Linked DNA regions of Homo sapiens: region 2 is linked to region 1. Evidence: promoter capture Hi-C in human tissues and cell types (Jung and others, 2019). All regions are on one chromosome and are shown on one strand. Each heading gives the region's core, a stretch centred on a gene start or on the middle of the fragment in contact. The rest is flanking DNA. Distances are from core to core; before and after follow the strand shown.

The links. The method cuts DNA at HindIII sites, captures the fragments that hold promoters and counts their contacts. A contact is called where the count stands out against the background at its distance.
Region 2: a fragment that was not itself captured here is called in contact with the fragment with the promoter of FA2H in region 1 in 1 of the 25 tissues and cell types used here (spleen).

Annotation. Positions count from the first base shown.
Region 1 is chr16:74,771,607-74,779,087 of GRCh38, reverse strand. FA2H (fatty acid 2-hydroxylase) reads left to right here and starts at 4,268. Exons shown (of 7, transcript NM_024306.5): 1 at 4,268-4,602. The coding sequence starts at 4,333. RefSeq lists silencers at 3,962-4,021, 4,032-4,161, 4,172-4,541, 4,582-4,631 and an enhancer at 6,922-7,211. The HindIII fragment of the contact is 21,235 bases long and covers 1-7,481 here.
Region 2 is chr16:75,395,312-75,402,792 of GRCh38, reverse strand. The region is part of intron 4 of CFDP1 (craniofacial development protein 1); the gene reads left to right. Among named protein-coding and RNA genes, the nearest start is that of CFDP1, 34 kb to the left of the region's middle. The HindIII fragment of the contact is 4,741 bases long and covers 1,467-6,207 here.

The DNA of each region.
Region 1 (7,481 bases), core at 3,019-5,518:
AGTATATCTGTAAGATTAAATTTCTAGAAGTGGAAATAACTAGGGCAAGAACTGTGAGTGTTACAATTCTGAACAGATGGCCAAATCATTTGTTCAACTGTAAACACTGGGAGTTCACAGCCATGGTGAGAAATCCAAATGGGAGTGCCCACAGATACTGTCAGCAAGAAGTGCCTGAGTACACCTGCGACTGTGCGCTTGGCTGCTTTGGCACATGAACGGGATTTGCAGCAGAGTAGGTGTGGAAGTTGGGTAAAGGTGACTACTTATGCATTCACCGCTTGAGAAAAGCAACAACTCTGTTGATGTGAGGCCTCTAGGCCTGACGGACAGGTGCTCCATAGACCCACAGACAGCAAAACTCTCGCCTACTCCCTGAGGGTCAGTCCGAAGAGAAGGGAGAGGGAAGAGGGGCGGCTCTTCTGACCTGGGGACCCCTGAGGCATCTGGGCCAGGCTTCCCATACTTGAACTGGCCCAGCACAGATGCCTGGCCCCAGAAGGGCACAAATGGAGATGATCCTTAAAATATCTTTCCTGAAAGAGACAAAGCCAGCTGGATGGGTTAGCCTCTGTACCAGGAGCATTTGATTACAAATCATGAGTTCAAGTGGGATCCCCTGTGGCTGAGCAAGTAAAGCTGGGTGTGGCTTTTCTGCTTTTTGTTTTCTGTTTAAGAGATGGAGCTCACTCTGTTGCCCAGGCTGGAGTGCAGTGGTGCAGTCATAGGATACTGCAGCCTCAAACTCCTGGACTCAAGAGATCCTTTGGCCTCAGCCTCCCCAGTAGCTGGGACGATAAGCCTGCATCACTACAACTGGCTAATTTTTTAAATTATTTATTTATCCAATTATTTTTGAGATGGAGCCTCGCTCTGTCACACAGGCTGGAGTGCAGTGGTGCAATCTCCACTCACTGCAACATCTGACGCCTGGGTTCAAGCGATTCTCCAGCCTCAGTCTTCTAAGTAGCTGGGACTACAGGGGCATGCCACTGCGCCCGACTAATTTTCTTGTATTTTTAGTAGAGACAGGGTTTCACCATGTTCGCCAGGCTGGTCTCAAACTCCTGACCTCAGGGGATCTGCCTGCCTTGGCCTCCCAAAGTGCTAGGATTACAGGTGTGAGCCACCGCACCTGGCCTCAATTTTTTTTTTTTTTTTTTTTGAGACAGAGTTTCGCTCTTGTTGCCCAGGCTGGAGTGCAATGGCACAATCTCACTGCAACCTCTGCCTCCCGGGTTCAAATGATTCTCCTGCCTCAGCCTTCCTGAGTAGCTGAGATTACAGGCAGGCACCACCATGCCTGGCTAATTTTTTATTTTTAGTAGAGATAGAGTTTCTCCATGTTGGTCAGGCTGGTCTCAAACTCCCGACCTCAGGTGATCCGCCCACCTCGGCCTCCCAAAGTGCTGGGACTACAGGCATGAGCCACCGCGCCCGGCCTGGCCTCAATTTAAAAAAAAAATTTTTTTGTAGAGACGAGGTATTGCTTTGTTGCCCAGGCTGGTCTTGAACTCCTGGGCTCAAGCGATCCTCCTGCCTTGGCCTCCCAAAGGGTTGGGATTACAGGCATGAGCCACCATGTCCAACCAAGTTTTTCCTGTTCTAAACAAAACTGTGATGAACAAATTCAGTCCTCCTTTCCACACAGCATCACCCCCAGCCTTTACTCCTGTAGGCCCCTACTTCCCCTTCTGTAATGGAGACAGTGTTCTCTGTTCTCCCCTCAGGTCCTTCCCCAGGGCCCAGGATTAGAGTGAGGGAGTGAGGCACTAACCCTGAGAGCAAAATCTACAGGCATGCCAAAAAACAAACAAAAAAAAGTAACCAAGATAAATAATATTTTAATGCAGTATTGTAAAACTTCAAGATTAATGCAAAAAAATCCATGATGGACAAAATATCAAAATTTTAAATAAAAACAGGAGCTAACCCTGCACTTTCACATCCCTGTCTCAGGAATCCCTGGCCCTGGTTCCAATAAAACTTTATTTACAAAAACAGGTGGCCAATGCCACGCCCCCAACCCCACCCCTCACCCCTGTCTTTTGACAATGTGATTTTTTAAAACATTCTTAAATATTTTGTATTGCGGTAAAATATACATAATATAAATTTACCATTCCAACCATTTTCAGTGTACAGTTCAGTGGCATTAAGAACATTCACATTGTGCAACAAAATAATTTTTTTTTTGAGACAGAGTCTCTCTTTCTCGCCAGGCTGGAGTGTGGTGGGGCGTTCTCGGCTCACTGCAACCTCCAACTCCCAGATTCAAGCGATTCCCCTGCCTCAGCCTCCCAAGTAGCTAGGACTACAGATGCGTGCCTCCACAGCCAGCTAATTTTTGTATTTTTAGTAGAGATGGGGTTTCACTATGTTGGCCAAGATGGTCTCGATCTCTTGACCTCGTGATTCGCCCACCTCGGCCTCCCAAAGTGCTGGGATTACAGGTGTGAGTTACCGCACCCAGCCAACAATATAATTTTTTAAATATTACGTTCAGGTATTAGATATAGTGATGACTGAGTTTTGGGGTGCCCCATTAAATTTTGCCCTCGAACATTATTAAAAAGTCAAGAAACAGTAGATGTCTGCGTGTATGTAGTGAAAGGGGGATGCTTATGCTATGCACTGCTGGTGGGAATGTAAATTAGTACAACTTGTTTGGAAAACAGTACAGAGATTCTTTAACAAACTAAAAGTACACTTTGGGGCTGGGCGCGGTGGCTCACGCCTGTAATCCCAGCATTTTGGGAGGCTGCGGCGGGAGGATCACTAGAGGCCAGGAGTTCGAGACCAACCTGGCCAACATGGTGAAACCCCGTCTCTACTAAAAATACAAAAAAATTAGCCGGGCGTGGTGGCACGCGCCTATAGTCATAGCTACTCTGGAGGCTGAGGCAGGAGAATCGCTTGAACCCGGGAGGCGGAGGTAGCAGTGAGCTGAGATTGTGCCACTGCACTTCAGCCTGGGCAACAGAGTGAGACTCTGTCTCAAAAAAAAAAAAAAAAAGTGCACTATGGGAGGCCATGGCAGGCAAATCGCTTGAGCCCAGGAGTTTGAGACCATCCTGGGCAGCATGGTGAAACCTCGTCTCTACAAAAAATACAAAAATTAGCCAGGCGTAGTGGTGCATGCCTGTAGTGCCAGCTACTTGGGAGGCTGAGGTAAGAGGATTGCTTGAGCCCGGGAGGTCGAGGCTGCAGTGAACCAAGATCGCACCACTACTCTCCAGCCTGGGTGACAGAGTGAGACCTTGTCACGGGAAGGGAAGGGAAAGGAAGGGAAGGGGAGGGGAGGGGAGGGGAGGAGAGAAAAAGTAGATTCACCATTCGGTCCAGCAATCCCACCACTGGGTATCTACCCAAAGGAAAAGAGTCATTATATGAAAAAGACACTTGCACACGAATGTTTGTTTTTTGCAGCCCAATTCACAATCGAAAAGATATGGAACCAACTTAAATAACCATCAACCAATGAGTGGATAAAGAAAATGTAGTTGATATACACGATAGAATACTACTCAGCCATAAAAAGGAACGAAATGAAGTCTTTTGCAGCAACTTGCATGGAGCTGGAGGCCATTATTCTAAGTGAAAGTGATTCAGGAATGGAAAACCAAACACTGTATGTTCTCACTCATAAGTAGGAACTAAGCTATGAGGACGCAAAGGCATACAGAGTGATATAATGGACAATAGGGAGAATGGGAGGGGGTGTAACACACACACACACACAAAACCCTACACATTGGGTATAATGTACACTACTCGGGGGACAGGTGGACTAAAATCTCAGGACTTACCACTATACAATTCCTCCATGTAACCAAAAACCACTGGTACCCCAAAAGCTACTGAAATTTTAAAAACAAACAAATATTTGCACCCGAGGCGAGCACCTCATTCGCCTCTCGCTCTCTCGGGCACCTCCTGGAGCCAGAGGGTCCCATGCGGCCAGCTCCTCCGTGGAAGCAGTTGAAGTTATTCCAGCAGCGATCAGGCCACCGAGGATGTCCGCCCAGACAACCACCCGCGACGGGGAGACTCGCTCCGCCTGTGTCCGCCCACCCTCCTCCCGCGCGGGACACACCTGGCGGGCGCGGCACTCCCTGTCCGCGGCCACCTGGCGCGCAGCTCCCGGCGCCGGGCCCGCCCCTCGCGGCTCTGCCGGGGCTCCCGGCCGGCCAATGGGAGCGCGGTATGCAAATGAGCAGGTGCGGTGGCGGCCCGCCCGGAACGGCCGCGGGGCTCCCGGGATGTTAGAGGCGCTCAGGGTGGCAGCAGAGCAGACGCCGGGCTGCGCGCTGGGAGCTGCGGTCTCCGGCCATGGCCCCCGCTCCGCCCCCCGCCGCCTCCTTCTCGCCCTCCGAGGTCCAGCGGCGCCTGGCGGCCGGCGCGTGCTGGGTCCGCCGCGGGGCCCGCCTCTACGACCTCTCCAGCTTCGTGCGGCACCACCCGGGGGGCGAGCAGCTGCTGCGGGCCAGGGCGGGCCAGGACATCAGCGCCGACCTGGACGGGCCGCCGCACAGGCACTCGGCCAACGCGCGCCGCTGGCTGGAGCAGTACTACGTGGGAGAGCTCCGCGGGGAGCAGCAGGTACAGCCGGGCCGGGGCCCCCCACCCCAACCCAGGCCTCCGTCAGCCTTCCACTCCCGGGCGAGCCCCGTTCACTTGCCCTCTAGCAGGACCCAAGGTGACAGCTTCTGCCCTCCCTTCCCTCGCTTTCCCTCTCTTCTCTCCAGGCAACAGGTCACTGTCGTCCCCTCCAACCCCTCCTTCCTCTCTCCAGGAACTTGCTCTTCCTTTCCACCCTTACCGCCTGGCCCGCCTCCGTGCCAGCTCTCCCATTTCCCCAGCACCCCTCCTTCCAGCGTGTTCCTTCTGCAGCCCCTGCCCTCCGACAACCTGGATTCCCGTTTCTGTCCCCAGCCCCCCATACGCCTCGGCTTTCCTTCCTCTTCACTTATCGGCCTCTCCCTCTTTGCAACCACTCTCCGTTTCTGTTTGGATAATGGGCTCAACCTGTTCCCACCTCCCCATCCCACCTCACTTCTGCTTCAAAGAGGCACAGATCAGTAACTCTTCTCACTAGCTTGGGTTTCCTGGTGCCGCCCTGGCCTTGCCTGGGCCATGTCTGGGGTGGACTGTGTCCTCCAACCTCTCAGACCTTCCCTTATATTCTTGTCCTACACGCTGGCTTGGGACTCCAAAAGAGTGAAATGAAAGGCATGAGCCAGTTTTGCCAAGGAAAAGGGACCAGCACTTTGGACCAGACTGTGTGCTGAGCTGCACGCTTCTGTGCAGTACCAGCTCCCGATGGTATTTAAGTCCTTAACTCAACCTGGGGCAGGTTTTGTTATTCCCATTTCAGGATATGGAATCTGAGGCTCAGGGAGGCTCTGATTAATGCGCCTAAGGTCAAATAGCTAAATAGTGGGAAAGCCACATGTATCTGACTCCAAAATCAATGCTGGCTCCATCCCAAAAGTCTTCGGGTGGAGGAGACAGACCTAGTCCACAGGATTCCAGGTAGGCTCAGGCCAGAGGCAAAGCGACTCTCTTGATGTTCCCCAGGCCTGGCTCTGGGACTGGTATGGGGCCATCATGCTTAGATATACAGTAGTTCCCCCTTGTCCAAGGGGATACATTTCAAGACCCTCAGTGGATCCTTAAAACCACAGATAGTACCGAATCCTATATATGCTATGTTTTTTCCCATATATGCATATCTATGATAAAGTTAAATTTATAAATTAAGAACAATAGGAAGAGATTAACAACAACAATAATAGAATAGTTACAACAATATACTGTAATAAGAGCTATTTGTATGTGGTCCCTTTCTCTCAAAACATCTTATAGTACTGTACTCACTCTTCTTGTGATAATGTAAGATGATAACATGAGGCCAGGCAAAGTGGCTGACATCTGTAATCCTAGCACTTTGGGAGGCCGAGGTAAGAGGATCGCTCGAGCCCAGGAGTTCAAGACCAGCCTGGGCAACATAGGGAGACCTTGTGTCTACAAAAAATACCAAAATTAGCCGGGTGTGGTGGCATGTGGCTATAATTCTAGCTACTTGGGAGGCTAAGGTGGGAGGATCACCTGAGAGGTGGAGGCTGCAGTGAGCCATGATCATGCCACTGCACTCCAGCCTGAGCAACAGAGTGAGAGCTCACCTCAAAAAAAAAAAGATAATAAGATGCCTACATGATGGGTTGGAGTGAGGTGAATGACAGGTGTGGTGATGTGGCATTGGCTACTATTGAAAAGTAATTTAAAACTTATAAATTATTTCTGGAATTTTCCATTTAATTATGTTTTTGGACCCAGGTTGACCGTGGGTTACTGAAACCATGGAAAGTGAAACCGTGGATAAGGGGGACTCCTGAAAACCAACAATTGTCCCCTGCTTCTAACTCTTGCTTTCAAGATGAGCCCAGCAACTACTCTTAGATCTTTGGTTGAAAGGACTTAGCACCCACTGTTTCAGGTGGCTTTTCATTGGGTCATCCTGCCTAATTTCTCCATCATTTATTCAGTCATGGAACTGGTTCCTTAATGGGTTGACAGCACTGTGCTGGGTGTGGGGAGATATCAATGAACAAAACGAATTCGGTTCCTGTCTTCATGGAGCTAATGGGATAATGGGGAAGGAGAGGGAACACACAGATCACATGATAGTTGCTTAATTAATGGTGTATCAGAGTACGGATCTAGAGGGGAGGAGCATAGAGAGCCTTCTTGAGAAAGCGACATTGACACTGAGAGCTGATTGATAGGCTGGGCTTAGCCAGGTGGCATGTAGCAGGAAGAATATTTTGGGCAAAGGGAACAGCACGTGTGAAGGCTCTGGCAGGAAGAGCTTGACATAGTAAAAGACTGCAAATAAAACCAACGTGGCCAGAGGCTGATGGGCAAAGACAGGGATGTGGGGGGAGGCCAAAAGTCGGCCGGGGCCACATCACACGGGGCTTCGTAGGCTGTGGTCAGGATTTGGGACTTGACTCTAACAAAAATGGGAAGCCAGGTGAGCCCGGGAGGTGGAGGTTGCAGTGAGCCAAGATCACGCCACTGCACTTCAGCCTGGGCAATAGAGCAAGACTCCATCTTAAAAAAAAAAAAAAAAGGAAGCCAGGGAAGAGGTTCAGGCAGGGTTCATGGTCAGATTTGCATCTTTAGAAGAGGACGCTGGCTGCAGTTTCAAGGAGGAACAGAGACAGCCTAAGTGGGTGTGAGGAGATCAGGCAGGATGCTGCTGCATGGCTGCCACTGCAGTGGCTGTGACCATGGGGGGAAGGGGGATGAATTCGGGAGAGTCTCTAGACAATATGCTGGGACTCAGCATTGTGTGGTGAGGGCCCAGTTTAATCTGAGAGGTTGGTGTTTGGTGTCGGCTCATGCTGAAGGGTTTAGAAGAAGATATAAGAAAAACTGAGTGCAGGAGGCCAGGCACGGTGGCTCATACCTGTAAT
Region 2 (7,481 bases), core at 2,588-5,087, 620 kb before region 1:
ATTATAAGGAATTCTCATAAGGGGACTTACGAGATCTGAATTTTCATTGATAACAGATACAAATTTGTTGTATGGATTTGAGCATATCTTTTAATTTCTTCATGTCATTATTCTCCTTTTTCTCTCTGTATCAAGTTAAGAGCATTACTACATCTTCAAGAAATGTGAGAAGAGCTGGTGATGACAGGAAGGAATTTGTAGGTCTAAGTGTAAGGTAGTGTTAGCACAAAGTTAGTCTTCAGTTTTCTAACTGTATTTTAATGTTAAATTTTGGGCTTTGATCATTTCATTTTGTTTTTGTCCCTACTTGAAAAATGTTTAGCTTATTAACCTAGGGGAATGGGGGAATATAGTATTTTGTATTCTGCCCTATCACATAACCAGCTGAGCCAGTTAGCTCAGACTTTCCTAAATGATTCACCTTTTGGAAAAAGCCAGTCATGGAAAGTTTCTGCCCAATTAAAGACTTTCAGGAAGTTCTGAGCAAGTGAAAATAAAGTTAAAATGGAATTTCTGTTGAGAACACTTGAATTAACTATTACTAATAATAGGCCTTTTCCTGTCAGAGTTCCCTCTTGTGCGTTAGAGGTGGTCTATAATTTAACTGTTCTCCTGCTTGAAGATATTTTGATACTTGAATCCCTTATTGCTTGTTAAAAGTGGAGTTGTTCTAGGCATACTGTCAATGAAGAGTAATCTGTAATATTACTTGGTGTCAATTACTAAAGTTCCTGAGATAAATATACCAGTGTTTCCTAGTGAATATAGATAGGACTTTGGCACTAAGAAATTTTGAGAGATACTCCCACAGTTTATACTTTTTCCATGCTGCTTTTATGCCACTTACTATATATCATGTATTACAATGACTTGCTTTCATGGTTGGCTGTTCTGCTGAACTGTGAGCTCCTTAAGAGCAAAGGCCATGCCATATTTTTTTTTATATGTTCAACATCTAACAGTGCTTGGATCTAGGTTGCTTTTCAGCAAATGTTGACCTAATTGTCTCAGGTGACTCTTTCCAGGCTTGTCATTTCCATGAAGGTAGTAAAAAACAAAACCAAACATGCATTACCTAGAGGCTACTTTTCCTTAAGCTATCACTTAGGCCATTTGATTTCATCTTCTCTATCACCAGCATTCTGAAACTTCACAGTGATTTGCCTTGATGTGAATCTTTTTTTTATTTTTCTGAGACGGAGTCGCACCTTGTCGCCCAGACTGGAGTGTAGTGGCGCTATCTCAGCTCACTGAAACCTCTGCCTCCTGGGTTCAAACGAATCTCCTGGCTCAGTCTCCCAAGCAGCTGGGATTACAGGCACCTGCTACCACGCCCAGCTAATTTTTTTTTTTTTTTTTTTTTTGAGACGGAGTCTTAACTTTGTTGCCCAGGGTGGAGTGCAGTGGTGCAATCTTGGCTCACTGCAAGCTCCATCTCCCTGGTTCACGCCATTCTCCTGCCTCAGCCTCCCGAGTAGCAGGGACTACAGGCGCTCGCCACCAAGCCTGGCTAATATTTTGTATTTTTAGTAGAGACGGGGTTTCACTGTATTAGCCAGCATGGTCTTGATTTCCTGACCTCATGATCCACCCACCTCGGCCTCCCAAAGTGCTGGGATTACATGCGTGAGCCACTGCGCCCAGCCAATTTTTGTATTTCTTAATAGAGACAGGGTTTCACCATGTTGCCAGGCTGGTCTGGAACTCCTGACCTCACTATCTGCCCACCTCGGCCTCCCAAAGTGCTGGGATTACAGGTGTGAGCCACTGTGTCAAGCTGGATGCTTTTAAATTAGCTGCATCCAGTGTTCTGTGGCTCTTTTTTATGGAAGCCTATCCTTCACTTCTAGGACATTTTCTGTTATTGTTGACAACTTCCCCCTATTTTCTGTTTTTATGAGATTCATATTAGTAGAATTGATATGACAGGCCAGGGCAGTCTAGGCTGAGGTAACAAACTCAGCAACTCAGTAGCATAATACAGTACATTATTTCTTACTGGTATAAAGTCCAATATGAGTTTCGTAGCACTCCATCTTGTAACTCAGTTGTACAGAACACCTAGGCTTCAGGGTTGCTCTGGCAAAGGAAGAATGAATACATAGATTTTCATATAATTCCTCTTTTCTCAGAATGGACTTCAGCCATGCCTTTTGAGTCTGGAACTTCCGTGGTTTTCATTTCTCCAGAGTAATGGGTTCTGCTGGATTGGGGATGGGGTAGAGCAGTAGCCTGTGGTATGAGGTGCTGCTGAAGGGGATCTGGGGCCTAGCTGCTCCTGATGGATAATTCCAACTGGTTTTAGCCCTATTCCTTTCCTCTACCTCGAAAGGTTCCTGGTGTCTCAATTTAATGAGCCTTTCTAGGGTACTTTAGTACACATTGGCTTGCCTGTTTTTGGCCATTCCACATGGCTGTAGGCTTAGGAGATCAGAGAAAACAAAAACCAAAGCCAGTTATTACTTGTCTACTTGCTTTCTACCTTCTTTTTTGTTTTGTTTTGTTTTTTGTTTTGAGACAGGGTCTCACTCTGTTGCCTAGGCTGTATAGTTCCACGATAATAGCTCACTGTAACCTTGAACTCCTGGCTTCAAGCGATCCTTCTGCTTCAGCCTCCCAAGCATCTAGGACTACAGGTGCACGCCATGATGCCTGGCTGATTTTTTTTTTCCTTTTTTTTTTTTTTTTTTTGAGATGGAGTTTTGCTCTTGTTGCCCAGGCTGGAGTGCAATGGCACGATCTCGGCTCACCGCAACCTCCACCTCCTGGGTTCAAGCGATTCTGCTGCCTCAGCCTCCCAAGCAGCTGGGATTACAGGCATGTGCCACCACCACTGGCTAATTTTGTATTTTTGATAGAGATGGGGTTTCTCCATGTTGATCAGGCTGGTCTCGAACTCCCAACCTCAGGTGATCCGCCTGCCTTGGCCTCCCAAAATGCTGGGGTTACAGGCGTGAGCCACCACGCCCAGCCGATTTTAAAAAATTTTTTGTAGAGTTAGGGTCTTGCCATGTTGCCCAGGGCTCAAGTAATCCTCCCGCCCTTGGCCTCCCAAAGTGCTGGAATTACAGGCCCGAGCTACTGCACCTGGCTGCTTTCTACTGTCAGAAAATTTGGGCTGGGCGCAGTGGCTCATGCCTGTAATCCCAGCACTGGGAGGCCAAGGCAGGAGGACCACTTGAGCCCAGGAGTTTGAATCCAGCCCAGGCAACATGGTGAGACTCTGTCTTTAAAACAAAAAAAAAGAAGAAGAAAATTCTGTTGGCATCCCTTTTCTGTTATACTTCTTCTCATTATCCTTGTGTAGTTTCATCTTTTTAAATTTATTTGCCACTATTTAGTAGGGTTTTGGCAGGACTGGAATAAAGCATGTGTTCAGATTACTATATGTAAGTGGCAGTTTCTACTTGTTCTTCATTAGCTGGTCTGCCCCAGATTCTACCCAGAGCAAGGAAATTTAAAGGTACCCTTTCTAGTTTAGTACTCCAGAACCCTGCATTAAGCCTGAGATTTGGATGTGGGTTTATTTTGGTTATTTTTACAACAGTGTAAGAAAGCACCTCAAAATTTAGTGGCTTTAAAAAATAATTGTTTTATTATAATTTCTCTTGGTTCCAGGGGTGGCTGGGCTCAGCTAGGCAGTTCTTACTCAGGGTCTCTTGTACAGTTGTAATCAGACAGTGGCTAAGTGTGGAACCACTTCACAGGTTTTCTTTTTTTTTTTTTTTTTTTTTTTGAGACGGAGTCTCGCTCTGTCTCCCAGGCTGAAGTGCAGTGGCATGATTTCGGCTCACTGCAAGCTCCACCTCCCGGGTTCCCACTATTCTCCTGCCTCAGCCTCCCGAGTAGCTGGGACTACAGGCGCCCGCCACCATGCCTGGCTAATTTTTTTTGTATTTTTTAGTAGAGACGGGGTTTCACCGTGTTAGCCAGGGTGGTCTCAATCTCCTGACCTCGTGATCTGCCCGCCTCAGCCTCCCAAAGTGCTGGGATTACAGGCATGACCACCACGCCCAGCCTTCACAGGTTTTCTTACTCCCACGTCTGATGCCAGAGCTGGGAAGGCTCAAACACCCAGGGGTTGGTACAGGCTTCTCAGACGTCTGTTTCTGTGTGATCTTCCCATATGATCTCTCCAACATAGTGGCTGCAGAGTAGCCAGACTTCTTTTGTGGTAACTTGGAGTTTCAAAGGTGCATTCTTGAGAGAGACAGACACAGGGACAGACAGACAGACAGAGCATGCCAGGTGGAAGCATGCCAGGTGGAAGCTGTATTATCTTTTATTTGCTAGCCTGTGGAAGTCATGTTGTGCCACTTCCACAGAACTCTTTGAGTTGAGACAGCCATGAAGGCCCATTCACTTTCAAGGGGTGATGACACAGACTCCCCCTCTAACTGGGGTAGTATCAGGGTTCTGGAAGAGCATGTGGGGATGGGAAATTTGTGGCAACCATCTTTGGAATATCCTGTCTGCTATAGGGTTCTCTATAGCATTGCTGCTTAATCTCAGGATAGCCTTGAATAAGTAACGCAACCTTATATTTCAGTTTTCTTACTCACAAAATGTAAATGTGTCAGTCAGCTCTTGCTACAGTAGTGCTGTGTAGCACACCATTCCAAAACTCAGTGATGTACAATGATAAGCATTTACTTGTTGCCTTTTGCCTCTGAGTATCTGAGATTGAGTGATTTAGACTCGGCTCAGCTAAGCTCCAAGCTGCTTGTTTGTTGGGTTCAGGTCTACAGCATGTGTCTTTCTGCCATCTTGGACCAGCAGCCAGTTGAGGTGTATTCTCCTTATGACTCAAGGGATGAATTCAAGGGGCAAGAGAAACAGCACAAACATGTTTAAGCTTCTGTTCCTCTCAGATCAGCTAATACTTCATTGGCCTTTGTAGCAAGTCGTGTATCCAAGCTCAGCATCAGTGGAGTAGGGAAGGATTTGTTTTGTTTTGTTCTTTTATTTTTATTTATTTATTTATTTTTTGAGACGGAGTCTCGCTGTCGCCCAGGCTGGAGTGCAGTGGCGGGATCTCGGCTGACTGCAGCCTCCACCTTCTGGGTTCATGAGGTTCTCCTGCCTCAGCCTCCCGAGTAGCTAGGATACAGGTGTACCTGCCACTATGCCCGGCTAATTTTTTTTACTTTTTTTAGTAGAGACAGGGTTTCACCATGTTGGCCTGGCTGGTCTCGAACTCCTGACCTCATAATCTGCCCGCCTCAGTCTCCCAAAGTGCTGGGATTACAGGCGTGAGCCACTGCCCCCGGCCTGTTGTTTTCTTTTTGAGACGGAGTCTTGCTCTGTTGTCAGGGCTGGAGTGCAGTGATGCTATCTTGGCTCACTGCAACCTCTGCCTCCCAGGTTCAAGTGATTCAGCCTCCTAAGTAGCTGGAGTTACAGGCATGCACCACCACACTCAGTTAACTTTTGTATTTTTAGTAGAGATGGGGTTTCATCATGTTGGCCAGGCTGGTCTCGAACTCCTGACCTCAAATGATCTGCCCACTTTGGCCTCCCAAAATGCTGGGATTACAGGCATGAGCCACTGTACCTGGCCTGGTTTTAAAACAAAAAAACGCTGGGCGCAGTGGCTCACGCCTGTAATCCCAGCACTTTGGGAGGCCAAGGCGGGCAGATCACAAGGTCAGGAGATCAAGACCATCCTGGCTAACACGGTGAAACCCCATCTCTACTAAAAATACAAAAAAATTAGCTGGGCGTGGTGGCGGGCACCCGTAGTCCCAGCTGCTTGGGAGGCTGAGGCAGGAGAATGGCATGAACCCAGGAGGCAGAGGTTGCAGTGAGCCGAGATTGCGCCACTGCACTCCAGCCTAGGCGACAGAGCGAGACTCCATCTCAAATGAAAACAAACAAACAAACAAAAAACAAGAAAAAACTTCTCAGAGGACTACAAAAGAGGCCACTGAGGCCGGCCATAATAGACTGCATTTAAACAAAATTCCTCAGGTGTTTTTGTTAACCTGGAAAGCCTGGGCAGGGATTAAACATTTCTCTTTCTCTCTTTATCTGAATTCTCAGGTACCATAAATACCTTTATTTGAGCCTTTAGGACTCAGTTTTAGTGAAGATAATTTTTTCAGATTTGAAGTTAGACAAAATTCTCAGTCATGTTGCTTTCGTCCATTCCCAAATTATTGCTAATTTAGCCAGTTTTTGTTTCATCTTTGGGTTGTTTTGGATATAAAACAGGAGCCTTCTGCAGAGTCTTCTCAATTTATTTATTTATTTTTGAGACAGAGTCTCGCTCTGTTGCCCAGGCTGAAGTGCAGTGGCGTGGTCTGAGCTCACTGCAACCTCCACCTCCTGGGTTCAGGCAATTCTCCTGCCTCAGCCTCCCTAGTAGCTGTGATTACAGGCGCCTGCCACTATGCCTGGCTAATTTTTTGTATTTTTAGTAGAGACAGGGTTTCACCATGTTGGCCAGGCTGGTCTCAAACTCATGACTTCGTGGTCCGCCTGCCTTGGCCTCCCAAAGTGCTGGGATTACAGGCATGGGCCACTGTGCCTGGTCTCCTCAAATTTTTTTTTTTAACTCTTGTTTTTCTCCTTGAAATAGTGCCAACCTAGGCATTATTTCCCAATTCTATAACCTATATTCCCAGTATTCCATCTCCCCATCTCAGCTTTCAAGGCTGAGTGCTAATCTGCATGTGGGGTGCAGTGTGAGGGCCTTTTTCAGCCTTCACATCAGTAAACCAGCATGGAGATTTAGTATTGACTGCTGCAGTGTGTTTCATGCTGAGAAGTCATGGAGGGGAGATGGACTGCATTTAAACAACATTCCTCAGGTGTTTTCGTTAACCTGGAAAGCCTAGGCAGGGATTAAACATTTCTCCTTCTCTCTTTATCTGAATTCTCAGGTACCATAAACACCTTTATTTGAACCTTTAGGACTCAGTTTTAGTGAAGATAATTGTTTCAGATTTGAAATTAGACAAAATTCTCAGTCATGTTGCTTTCGTCCATTCCCAAATTATTGCTAATTTAGCCAGTTTTAGGGGATTTTGTTTCATCTTTGGGTTGTTATAGGGTGATAAAATTTATACACATTGTTGTTTCATTTGTTAATTTTAGTGAGGGAAAATGTTTTTTTATTTTTTTTATTTTTTTGAGACGGTGTCTCGTGCTGTTGCCCAGGCTGGAGTGCAATGGCGTGATCTCGGCTCACTGCAACCTCTGCCTCCCGGGTTCAAGTGATTCTGCTGCCTCAGCCTCCCGAGTAGCTGGGACTACAGGCGCCCGCCACCACGCCCAGCTAATTTTTATATTTTTAATAGAGACGGGATTTCACCATGTTGGCCAGGATAGTTTCGATCTCTTGACCTTGTGATCCGCCTGCCTCGGCCTCCCAAAGTGCTGGGAGTACAGGCGTGAGTCACCACGCCCGGCTGGGCAAATGTCTTTATTGAAAGTTATAGTAAACTTTTATCATAATGCTGAGCGTCCAGAATTTATTG